3 separate regions of the Homo sapiens genome follow, and regions 1 and 3 are each linked to region 2. Evidence: promoter capture Hi-C in 16 types of primary human blood cells and fetal thymus (Javierre and others, 2016). All regions are on one chromosome and are shown on one strand. Each heading gives the region's core, a stretch centred on a gene start or on the middle of the fragment in contact. The rest is flanking DNA. Distances are from core to core; before and after follow the strand shown.

Region 1 (3,757 bases), core at 954-3,453, about 10 Mb after region 2:
TCTCAGAAAATTGGGTGTGGGGCACAGCAACAAACCTTCCAGCCGTTTTGATGCAAGCTAAAGTTTGAGGACCTCCGGCCTATAAAGCAAGGCAAGACTAGACGTCCTACTTACCCCACAGGTTAAAAGGATCAAATAAGATAAAATACATCAAAATGTTTTTGAAGCTGTTATACATGTCATTATTAATACTGTTATGGCTCTAAAACTGTCACTTCCCAGGTCCCAGATTCTTTCCCAAGGCTGGACATCTGTAGTTTTTTAGAATGCTCCATCTGATGACTTTCTATAACTTTGAAATGACTGCAAATCCAACACTTTTTAACTTAATCTTCTATACTCATGATATAGGGATGATATACGGAAAGAGTTTTATAGGAAAGGTGGAAACAAAGAGCTATCAAGAGCTATGAAGTGTCAGGATTTGAACTGAAACATGGACCTGTCTAGAAAAGACAGCTCTGTGGATTTGTTCTATTTCACTAAGAAATGTCTATTCATGTATTCTTGCAAGAGGACTTATCCACTACTATAGAATGCTCTGAGCATTTATTTCACCTGTTTAATAGCCTTGCTTTCTTTTCTGAGAGTATTTTAGTTACTTAAGTCCTGTGAAAGAAAAATCTCGGTGTTACTGGGGTCCCAATCCAGACCACAAGAGAGGGTTCTTGAACCTCACACAAGAAAGAATTCAAGGCGAGTCCATAAAATGAAAGCAAGTTTATTAGGTAAAGGAATAAAGAATGGCTACTCCATAGGCAGAGCAGCCCAGAGGGCTGCTGATTGCCCATTTTTGTGGTTATTTCTTCATTATATGCTAAACAAGGGGTGGATTATTCATGCCTCCCCTTTTTAGACCATATAGGGTAACCTCCTGACATTGCCATGGCATTTGTAAACTGTCATGGTGCTGGTGGGAGTGTAGCAGTGAGGACAACCAGAGGTCACTCTCATCGCCATCTTGGTTTTGGTGGGTTTTGGCAGGCTACTGCAACCTGTTTCACCAGCAAGGTCTTTATGACCTGTGTCTTTTTTTTTTTTTTTTTTTTTTTTTTTGAGACAGAGTCTCACTCTCGCCCAGGCTGGAGTGCAGTGGTGCAATCTCAGCTCACTGCAACCTCCACCTCCCAGGTTCAAGCAATTCTTCTGCCTCAGCCTCCTGAGTAGCTGGGACTACAGGCACGCGCCACCACGCCCAGCTAATTTTTGTATTTTTAGTAGAGACAGGGTTTCACCATGTTGGTCAGGCTGGTCTCGAACTCCTGACCTCGTGATCCACCTGCCTTGGCCTCCCAAAGTGCTGGGATTACAGGCGTGAGCCACCGTGCCCGGCCTATGACCTGTATCTTCTGCCGACCTCCTATCTCGTCTTGTGACTTAAAATGCCTTAACTGTCTGGGAATGCAGCCCAGTAGGTCTTTTCTTTTTTTTTTTTTTTTTTTTTTGAGACGGAGTTTTGCTCGTTGTCCAGGCTGGACTGCAATGGCGCGATCTTGGCTCACTACAACCTCCGCCTCCCGGGTTCAAGCGATTCTTCTGCCTCAGCCTCCTGAGTAGCTGGGATTACAGGCATGTGCCACCACGCCCAGCTAATTTTGTATTTTTAGTAGAGACAGGGTTTCTCCATGTTGATCAGGCTGGTCTCAAACTCCCGACCTCAGGTGATCCACCCACCTTGGCCTCCCAAAGTGCTGGGATTACAGGCATGGGCCACCGTGCACGGCCTTACCCACCCTTTTTTCAACATGGAGGTGCTGTGATTCAAACCCCTCTAACATCAGGACCCCAAAAATGACTAAGCCAAAGGGAAAGTCAAGCTGGGAACTGCTTAGGGCAAACCTGCCTCCCATTCTACTCCTAAAAAAAAAGATAGCTACTAAGATAAAAAAGCTATATATACCTCCCTCACAATTTGACCACAAAGAAATTCCTTGTGGACAAAGGACAGATAGAGATTTAAAAAGTCATCCCTCTGCTCATATGAGATAAATGCATATCTGATTGCCCTTTTGTTTCCCTAAGCCAGACTAACATAAGTGACTATTCCTGTAAATAGTGTATTCAGTGAAAGGCTAATCAGCAACTCAAAAGAATGCAACCATTGGTCTTTTATCTACCTATGACCTGGAACACCCCGGAGCCCCCCAACCCCCACTTGTATTAATAGCTGTCCCGCCTTTCTGGATGGGACCATTGTACATCTTAAACATATTGATTGATGTCTCATGTCTCCCTAAAATGTATAAAACCAAGCTGTGCCACACAACCTTGGGCACATGTCGTCAGGACCTCCTGAGGCTGTGTCATGGGTGTGTCCTTAACCTTGGCAAAATAAACTTTCTAAATTGATTGAGACCTGTCTCCGATTCTCTTGGTTTACAGAGCGATGTATTCTGGACGAACTAATAAAATTGAGCTTTTGGACACGCAGAATTGAAATGCAGACCTGAATTCTGATAAGCCAAATGGTTCTCCAACTTAGCACTCTCACTTAAAAAGAAAAATATGGTTTTAAAATCATATGTGTTCATTGTGGAAATCTAGGGAAATACAGACATATAAATAAAAAGAAAATAAGAATCACCTGTGCCTCACTATCCAAGAGAAAGTACTCCACTTTGATGTATATTATTTTTTTTCTTTTCTTTTCTTTTTTTTTTTTTTTTTTTTGCCTCCCCAATAGCTGGGAGTACAGGAGCACACCAGCATGCCAGCTAATTTTTTTTTTTTCTTTTTTTTTGAGACTGAGTTCCGCTCTTGCCCAGGCTGGAGTGCAATGGCGAGATCTTGGCTCACTGCAACCTCCGCCTCCCAGGTTCAGGTGATTCTTCTGCCTCAGCCTCCCAAGTAGCTGGGGATTACAGGTGCCCACCACCACACCTGGATAATTACTGTATTTTTAGTAGAGACAGGGTTTCGCCACGTTGGCCAGGCTGGTCTTGAACCCCTGACCTTGGGTGATCCGCCCGCCTCGGCCTCCCAAAGTGCTGGGATTACAGACGTGAGCCACCGTGCCCGGCCCCACCTAATTTTTGGTTATTTTTAGTAGAGACTGGGGTCTCCCTATGTTGCCCAGGCTGGTCTCAAACTCCTGAGCTCAAGGGATCCTCCCACCTCAGCCTTCCAAAGTACTGGGATTATAGGTGACAGCCACCAAGCCAGCCTCATATTCTTAAATGTCAAAACATGATTTTTTACTACTGTGCATTATTTTGTCATATGGATATATCATAAACAACCAATTCCTTACTATTGGAGATAGAGATTTTTTATTTTTTTCACCATTATAAATGAAGCAATAAATACCTTTATAAATGAATTCCACATTTGATTTTATCTTTAGAATAAATTATCAGAAATGGCTTAAGGGAGCTAAACTTTTTTTTTTTTTGAGAGACCGAGTCTCGTTCTGTTGCCCAGGCTGGAGTGCAATGGTGCCATCTCAGCTCACTGCAACCTCCGCCTCCCGGGTTCAAGGGATTCTCCCACCTCAGCCTCCCAAGTAGCTGGGATTACAGGCGCATGCCACCAGGCACGGCTAACTTTTGTATTTTCAGTAGAGAGGGGCTTCCACCATGTTGGTCAGGCTGGTCTCGAACTCCTGATGTGATCTGCCCGCCTTGGCCTCCCCAAGTGCTGGGATTACCGGTGTGAGCCACCGCTCCTGGCCCCTCTTATTATTTTTTTTTAAGATGGAGTCTTGATCGGTCGCCCAGGCTGGAGTGCAGTGGCACGATCTCGGCTCACTGCAACCTCT
Region 2 (3,980 bases), core at 289-2,788:
GGAAATAGAAAGTGCTTCCTGAGAGATGACTAGCTTTGCAACTACTATTCAAAGAATAAGTAGAGTGTGTTTTAGAAGATGAGTATTTCCCACAAATGACAGAATGTTGGACTTAAAAGGTTCTGTGGCAGTTTGGGAGGTGACAGTTGATAGTTGTGAAAGTTGTTGTCTCTGAGATTCGTGAAACACGCCGCTTTTTAGAATGCCTCTGAAAGAACAAAGAAGTCACTGGCACTCGACTATAATATGCTAAAAAGTTTCTGGTTCCAACAGCACACAGCCAGCATCAGGTGTTTTCTTTTTTGATAAATGCAGGCGGGGTGTGATGTGGGAGAACATTTTGTGTTTTCCTGTGAGAAAAAGATAGTAGAAAAGAAAGTAAACACTTTGAAATGGCAAATCTCTTTCTTCCTCCCTCCCCTCTGAATCCAGTAATCAAAAAACTGTGAACTTTTTTTAAATTTTATTTTTTTTCACTGTCAGTATTCAATATAACTGTGAACTTTTTAAAGGAAGATGTTTTATTCTTTGAGAACCCCCTTACTAGTTAGATACCTCTAAGTGAGATATAGTTGTTTAATTTTTCCAAGGGCTAAGTCAGTAACATGCTGGACAGTTGAGTACATGCAGATAAGACAAAGAAATGAGACCTGGGCCTAGTCCAAGCCCATAAAGGATGGCAGTAAAGTCAAAATTCCCCTACAACTTCAGGCTAGGAACTACTACATTCAATGAGATGGAAAGGCTACTATTCCTAAATATTTAGTATTTATTTTATTTAGTCATTGTCCATCTTATCACTTACCCTCAAAATATTCTTTTGAGCAGTAAGTTAAGGCTGTTTTTAGCTCGCAGTTGATTGACTACCATTACTCAAGCCATTTGGGCTGTTGGAGCTCACCTTTAATTAAACAAGATTCTTATGAAAAACTTGAGAATGAAATCTGGTTGTAGGTATTCCTGTACTTTTGGATTAGTCTAAGGCTGAAATTTCGCACTCACTCCGAAAAGAACATCAGAATCATTTCGACCATGCTATGCTGCACAATAAGGAGTAGTTCAAACGACAACTTTTTTTGATCCCAGGTGTTTTATTATAGGGTTTTCTGATAGTCTTACCGGAAAGGAAGTTTTCATTCTGCTTGGGAATCTGGGGATGTCTCTAGCCATTTCTAAACTTCTACAGTGCTTCCCCCACGAACTAAAGATAACAGGCAAGCAGTTTCCATTGGAACTGTGTTAAATCGACATCTGAAATGTTCATTGCTTATAATTTGATCTTATTTAATTTCCCAAAAAATCATTAGTTACTAGGTATTGCTAAGTACCCACGTTCGGGAAACGCATCTTTTTTTTTTTTTTTTCACGGTTATTAAAACCGAGGGTGGGGGGCGGAGGACGCACGTGGGAACCCACCAGGCGCCTCAGCTTCTGCACTACAACTCCCAGAAGGCGCCGCGGCCAGGAAGCCGCTTCTGGACGGGCGTTCCCGCCCCTCGCTGGGCTTGGTAGTTGGGGCGCAGCCGCGGTGGCTGGGCGCGGAGTGTGCGTGGCCTGAGCCGTGCGGGTGACTGCTTCAGGGCTTCTCCGCGACTGGACCGGGCGCCGCTCGAAAGCACGCCCTCCATTCGCACTGCTTGTTGGGCTCATCATGAAGCGCTTGGGCTCCGTGCAGCGGAAAATGCCGTGTGTGTTTGTGACGGAGGTGAAAGAGGAGCCTTCCTCCAAAAGGGAGCATCAGGTACGGAGGAGCGCCGGGCAGGCTTGGCGGCCCGCGTGGGCTCCTCCCCGCGGCGCTGGCTCAGTGCGAACCCGGCGAGGGCGGCTGGGCGCTTTAGAACTGCCCTGCAGGCCAGGAACCTCTGTAGGTTTCCCTGGGGAGGTCTGGGGTGGGAGTTCCGTACGCCCTGAGCTCCAGGTTCTTGTACTTTTCTTAGTTGTGAGGGAGGGAATTTGCGAAAGAATTTTCCTTATCAGGAGATTCAAACTTGTCCTCGCAAGGAAATGGATAACTCACATCCACAGCATGTCCCTTCCTTTTCAGGTCAGCACCTTTTGGGGAAACCCCCTAATCAGGTAATTGCCACAGTCCAAGCTTTACTACTTTTCAAGAGTGCAGTAAGAAAGGGTGGATATTAGAAGACTTGCTTTACCTGTTCTGTCCGAACCAGTGGCGGTGTTGACAGTAGCCTAATTAGGTCACTGAAGTTCACACCTCATATTACCAGTAATTACTTAATTTATTCTAACTTTGGTGTTCTCAAGGTTTTCTGTTGCAGCAACGTGTTTTCCATAGTGTGCCCTCGGTAAATGCTAGTGAGTAACCTATATTTGGGTAATTTTTTCATATTGTACTATAAAACGTTGTAGTCTTTGATCAGTAGAATCCCCAGTGATTAGTTGGGTGCTTCCCAACTTTGCTGATTTCAAACAAAACCAACATGTCCATTGGAAATCCACCTCACTTGAGTTTCATCATTGGCACTGGCTTTCTCGTCTTCTGGACTAAAACTTGTTTAAGGCAAAGATTGCCCTGTTATCTTTAGTCCCAGCTTCTAGGACCTGGCACGTGGTAGGCACTGGATAAATATTTGTTGAATTAAAGAATGAACCCTGGAATCATTTCATGCCAGTTTTCCATTCACCTTGATGCTTTTTACCTTATAGCATCTGATCTTTTCCTGCTTTCTAGTGCTGTCACAGCTGTTACAGTTAATATTTCATGTCCTGCTCATTGCACCACCTAACTGGTCTTACTTGCCACTCAGACTGATCATCACCATGTTCTTTCCTCGTCAGAATACCACAGTTATTACTCAATGTTTGTAGCAGTAATTGGCTTTTTTTTTTAGCTGTAACAAATGTAATCCATATGAAACATTATCATCTGTTTTAGTATTTCACTCTACTGTGATTTTCAACTTCGTATGTTTGAGGGGAGTAGTTTGTGAAAGTATTCTCCACCAGGGAAAATAAGCAGCCCCTTCTCTTACCTCTCTGCAGTTAAGAACAGCTTACAGTATCGTTTATAGCATAGCATCCACATTCTTAATTATAATTCAGGGCCTCCCACTAATGAGGCTCAATCTACCTTCCATCGTCCTTAAAGTGGATTCTGTTTTAACCATCTATTTCATCCTGTGAACATATCAACCACAATCCTGTCTCATATTTTTGCTCAGACTGTTCACTCTGGATCACCTCTAGAGTGTTTTTAATTTTTCAAGTCAGTTCTTCTCCATAAAATCTTATCAATTTAGCCATTTCAGTGATTTCCCCTACCCAGAAATTGTAGAGGGCCACTCAATTGATATTCACTATTTTAATACACGTACCTTGTTTTTCCGGTAATAGTCTAAAGCCTTTTATGACAGGTGGAGAAGGAGAACTTTGTGTACCCCTCAGTGTCTCGTGTTGTCCTTTGGATATGTCGATAGCAAAGAGCAGATGATTGATTTTTATGGAAGGAATGTTTATACTCATCAGGAGCTCCATGGGGCAGAGTAATCTTCCCCCCCACATAGGATCTTTGATAAATTTAGATACACACACACTGCTATTGGACCAGACCCTGTGGCTCTACCACCCTGGGTTAAATTGATATCCTTTGAAACCAGCATCATAAGTTAGTGAAAACCAGTTGTATTTTTAAAGTACTGAATCCCTACTAGACGATTATATTTTAAAAGTATTGAATCAGTACTAGAAGGGGCTAATTTCTTAGTTTACCTGTTTGCAATAGTGCATAAGTCTTAAGCTCACACACAGCAGTATGTTTATATTGTACAGTGTTGTTTCACTTTGTAAGATGATGCTACTTCAGATACAGACTATAGAAGTGGCATAAGTCTTTTTCAGAAATGAAAATAAATTATAGATAAAAAGTTAGTAGGAACCCAAGAAACTGCCTTTTCCTCATCCTTGGTGCCCTTCTTCTTCCTGACAGTAGAAAAACCATAAATTAAATATGTAAACAGCTG
Region 3 (4,237 bases), core at 1,680-4,179, about 10 Mb after region 2:
ACAACCTCCCCCCGCCTTCATGACAATCCTGCACCCACTGATGAAGATACCAGAGCAAAATGGCAATAGTGGTATTTTGATGTGTATTTCAGATAATAAATGACCACCATATAATTTTTCATCAAAACTCACACACTTTTGAGATTGAATGCAATGCTATTAAAAAATATACTAGGGCCAGGCACGGTGGCTCACGCCTGTAATCCCATCACTGTGGGAGGCCGAGCCAGGGCGTCACTTGAGGTCAGGAGTTTGATACCAGACTGGCCAACATGGCGAAACCCCGTGTCTACTAAAAATACAAAAATTTGCCAGGCATGGTGGTGCGTGCCTGTAATACCAGCTACTCAGGAGGCTGAGGCAGGAGAATCACTTGAACCCAGGAGGTGGAGATTGCAGTGAGCTGAGATCACGCCACTGCACTCCAATCTGGGTGACAGAGCGAGACTCTGTCTCAAAAAAAAAAAAAAAAAAAAAAATGCTAGGACAAGAGGTACAAACTGGCCTTGTCCCAAGCAAACTGGGAAATATGGTTACCTGTAATCCTAAAACATTGATGATGTCAACACTGCCTCAGTTGCTATGATGCCCTTCAATTCTAAAATGACTCCATCACGAAAGTGAAGAAAATCAGAACCCAAACTAGCTCTAGAGAAAAGATACTCAACCTCTTTAATAATGAGGAAAATATAGAAACAAATCAATAATAAGATGCCTTGGAAGGATTTGAAAGACAGGAATGATAGGTTCAGAATGGTTTCAAAACTTGTCCAACTTTTCTAACATGGTGATATCTGTGTAAAAAAAAAAAAAAACTTGTCCAGCTTTGATTTGAAATTGTAATGCAGTCTTCTGGATGTATCTCCTGAAATAGAAATGATGAAAACATCATTGTTGAATTGAGGAAAAATGGTGTTATACTAACAAATTTCAGCTCTTACACCCAGCACAGAAAACTAGAATAAAAAAAAAAAAAAACTAATATTAGAATCATTATTCATACCCTTTTGCCTGGCAGTCAGTTTCCCAGCCTCTGTGTGGCCCAATAGTGGTTAATGAAACAGGAAAACAACTGTCAGGATTTCCCTGGAAAGGCTTTCTCCCAGTAAAAAGGGACATTCAAAAGTATAGTGTGCTGGAGCTGCCTCTTCCCTCATGTTCCAGCCTTGAAACTGGCCATGATGGCTGCAGCAGCTACTTTGCAGACATGAAGTGACAATCATGAAAAGAAATGTCCTTTTGCTAAAGGTAGCAGAGAAGAAAGACCCAGAACAAGAAGAGAGTACTCAAAGCCTATGATGGCCTTGTTGAGCTGCCAGACCAACCCCAACATCACTCAAGAGAATTGTTGTGAGTTAGAAATGGGAGAGAAGTTGGGCATGTGTTTCATGCCTATAATTCCAGCACTTTGGGAGGCCGAGGCAGGCAGATCACTTGAGGCCAGGAGTTCGACACCAGTCTGGCCAACCTAGTGAAACCCTGTCTCTACTAAAAAATACAAAACTTACCCGGGCATGGTGGCATGCCTATAATCCCAGCTACTCTGGAGGCTGAGGCAGAAGAACTGCTTGAAGCCGAGAGGCAGAGGTTGCAACAAGCTGGGATCACGCCATTGCACTCCAGCCTGGGTGACAGAAAGAAGCTTGTCTCAAAAAAAAAAAAAAAAAGAAAGAAAAGAGAAGAAAAAATGGGAGAAAGACTTTCCTCTCCATACCTTATACCTCCTGGTATCTGGTACTTTTTGAACTTTGTTCTGTGTGCATGAATTGCCTATTCAAATAAAACTGTAATGCCTGAGGTTTTTTTGTTTGTTTGTTTGTTGTTGTTTTTTTTTGAGATGGAGTTTCACTCTTGTTGCCCAGGCTAGAGTGCAATGGTGTGATCTCGGCTCACTGCAACCTCTACCTCCCAGGTTCAAGCAATTCTCCTGCCTCAGCCTCCCGAGCTGGGATTACAGGCGCATGCCACCATGCCAGGCTAATTTTGTATTTTTAGTAGAGATGGGGTTTCACCATGTTGGCCAGGCTGCTCTCGAACTCCTGACCTCAGGTGATCTACCCGCCTCAGCCTCCCAAAGTGCTGGGATTGCAGGCATGGGCCACCACGCCTGAGATCTTATCAATCAAGTATTTAAACCAAAAATATTTTACATCTACATTTTTTTAGTGGAAATACAATTTTAAAAAGCACAGTTTAGCCAGGTGCAGTGGCTCACACCTGCAATCCCAGCACTTTGGAAGGCTGAGGCAGGCAGATCACCTGAGGTCTGGAGTTCAAAACCAGTCTGGCCAACATGGCGAAATCCTGTCTCTACTAAAAATACAAAAAAAAAGAAAAAAAAAATCAGCCAGGCATGGTGGCGGACGCCTGTAATCCCAGCTACTCGGGAGGCTGAAGCAGGGAGAAATGCTTGAACCCGGGAGGTGGAGGTTGCAGTGAGCCGAGATCGTGGCACTATACTCCAGCCTGGGTGACAGAGTGAGACTCGGGCTCAAAAAAAAAAAAAAAAGGCACAGTTTGAGGGTGGGGGCTCGCACATGTAATCCCAGAACTTTAGAAGGCTGAGGAGGGAGGATCTCCTAAGCCCAAGAGACCAGGCTGGGCAACAAAGTGAGATCTCATCTCTATAAAAACCAAACAAAACAGTCTGGTGAAAAATGCGATAGAATGAAGTATATTATAGACAAAAGGGACCTTCAGTATCAACTCTCACATATTGATTGTCGATGAAGAAAAGAGTCAAACTCTGTAAAATATTTGAAGAGACTTATTCTGAGCCAAATATGAGTGACCATGGCCAGTGACACAGCCCCAGGAAATCCTGAGAACGTGTGCTCAAAGTGGTCGGACTACAGCTTTTTATTACACATTTTAGAGAGACAGAAGACATCAAAAAATACATGTAAGATGTACATTGGTTCAGTGAGGGTGGATGGGGCGCTTCTACATCATGAGTGAATTCAAAGATTTTCTGATTGGGAGTTAGTTGAAAGAGTTTATCTAAAGACCTGAAATTTATAGAAGGGAGTGCCTGAATTAAGATAAGGGGTTGCGAAAACCAAGGTTCTTGTTATGCAGATAAAGCCTCCAGGTAGCAGGCTTCAGAAAGAACACATTGTAATTATTTCTGGGTCTCACTCCATCACCCAGGCTGGAGTGCAGTGGTGCAATCTCAGCTAACTGCAGCCTCAACCTCCCAGGCTCAAGCCATCCTCGCACCTCTCAGCCTCTGGAGTAGCTGGGATTACAGATGCGCGCCACTACGTCCTGGTAATTTTTGTATTTTTAGTAGAGACAGGGTTTCACCGTGTTGCCCAGACTTATCTCGAACTCCTGGGCTCAAGCAACCCACCTGCCTCGGCTTCCCAAAGTGCTGGGATTACAGGAGTGGGCCACAGCACCAGGTCAGATTGTAAAACTTTTAATTTTTATTTATTTTTTTTATTTTATTTTATTTTATTTTATTTTTTGAGACGAAGTTTCGCTCTTGTTGCCCAGGCTGGAGTGCAATGGTGTGATCTCGGCTCACTGCAACCTCCACCTCCCAGGTTCAAGTAATTCTCCTGCCTCAGCCTCCCAAGTAGCTAGGATTACAGGCGCCCACACCCCCACCCCATGCCTGGCTAATTTTTGTATTAGCCAGAGATGGGGTTTCACCATGTTGGCCTGGCTGGTCTCGAACTCCTGACCTTCAGGTGATTCACCTGCCTTGGCCTCCCAAAGTGCTGGGATTATAGGCGTGAGTCACCATGCCCAGCCAAAAATTTTATTTTTTACCTTTTTAAGGTGCAAGACTCTCAGTAAATTCTCTCCTGGTTAAGGAAAAATATCTGGAAAGGGAAGGGGATTCTCTACTGAAAGTAGATTTTCCCCACAAGAGACACCTTTGCAGGGCCATTTCAAAATGTGTCAAAAATATATATATATTTTTTGGGGTAAACTACTTCAATTTACTTCAGGGCCTGCTGTCTGTCATGTTGGTATCTTACTGCTACAAAAAGCCTTCTTTGTCAGACTTATGTTAATGCTGGTCAGATGTGCCTGAATCCCAAAGGGACTCTGTCCCAAAGGGAGGAGAGTATAATGAGGCTTGTCTGACCACCTGTTCCCATCATGACATGAACTAGCGTTTCAGGTAACTTTGGAATGCCCCTGGACAAGGAGGCATCCATTCAACTGATTGGGGAGCTTAGAATTTTATTTTTGGTCTACATGGTAAAGCTTAAAGTTGCGGAAA

What was found. Contacts are between HindIII fragments. The CHiCAGO score rates a contact against its expected background, and 5 or more counts as called.
Region 1: a fragment that was not itself captured here is called in contact with the fragment with the promoter of RLIG1 in region 2 in 4 of 17 cell types (naive CD4 T cells, total CD4 T cells, activated CD4 T cells and 1 more); the score reaches 9.1 in naive CD4 T cells.
Region 3: a fragment that was not itself captured here is called in contact with the fragment with the promoter of RLIG1 in region 2 in 1 of 17 cell types (non-activated CD4 T cells); the score reaches 9.0 in non-activated CD4 T cells.

The regions. Positions count from the first base shown.
Region 1 is chr12:98,507,216-98,510,972 of GRCh38, forward strand. No RefSeq gene overlaps it. Among named protein-coding and RNA genes, the nearest start is that of TRW-CCA4-1, 4.8 kb to the left of the region's middle. RefSeq lists an enhancer at 1,154-1,697. The HindIII fragment of the contact is 8,186 bases long and covers 1-3,757 here.
Region 2 is chr12:88,033,998-88,037,977 of GRCh38, forward strand. RLIG1 (RNA 5'-phosphate and 3'-OH ligase 1) reads left to right here and starts at 1,539. Exons shown (of 7, transcript NM_001009894.3): 1 at 1,539-1,741. The coding sequence starts at 1,652. It overlaps LOC107984542 (a long non-coding RNA gene), which reads right to left and starts at 1,499. Exons shown (of 3, transcript XR_007063395.1): 1 at 1,417-1,499; 2 at 1-350. The HindIII fragment of the contact is 2,128 bases long and covers 1-2,093 here.
Region 3 is chr12:98,486,324-98,490,560 of GRCh38, forward strand. LINC02453 (long intergenic non-protein coding RNA 2453) reads right to left here. Exons shown (of 4, transcript NR_038383.1): 4 at 1-865. Among named protein-coding and RNA genes, the nearest start is that of TRD-GTC1-1, 15 kb to the right of the region's middle. RefSeq lists a silencer at 4,208-4,237. The HindIII fragment of the contact is 2,579 bases long and covers 1,641-4,219 here.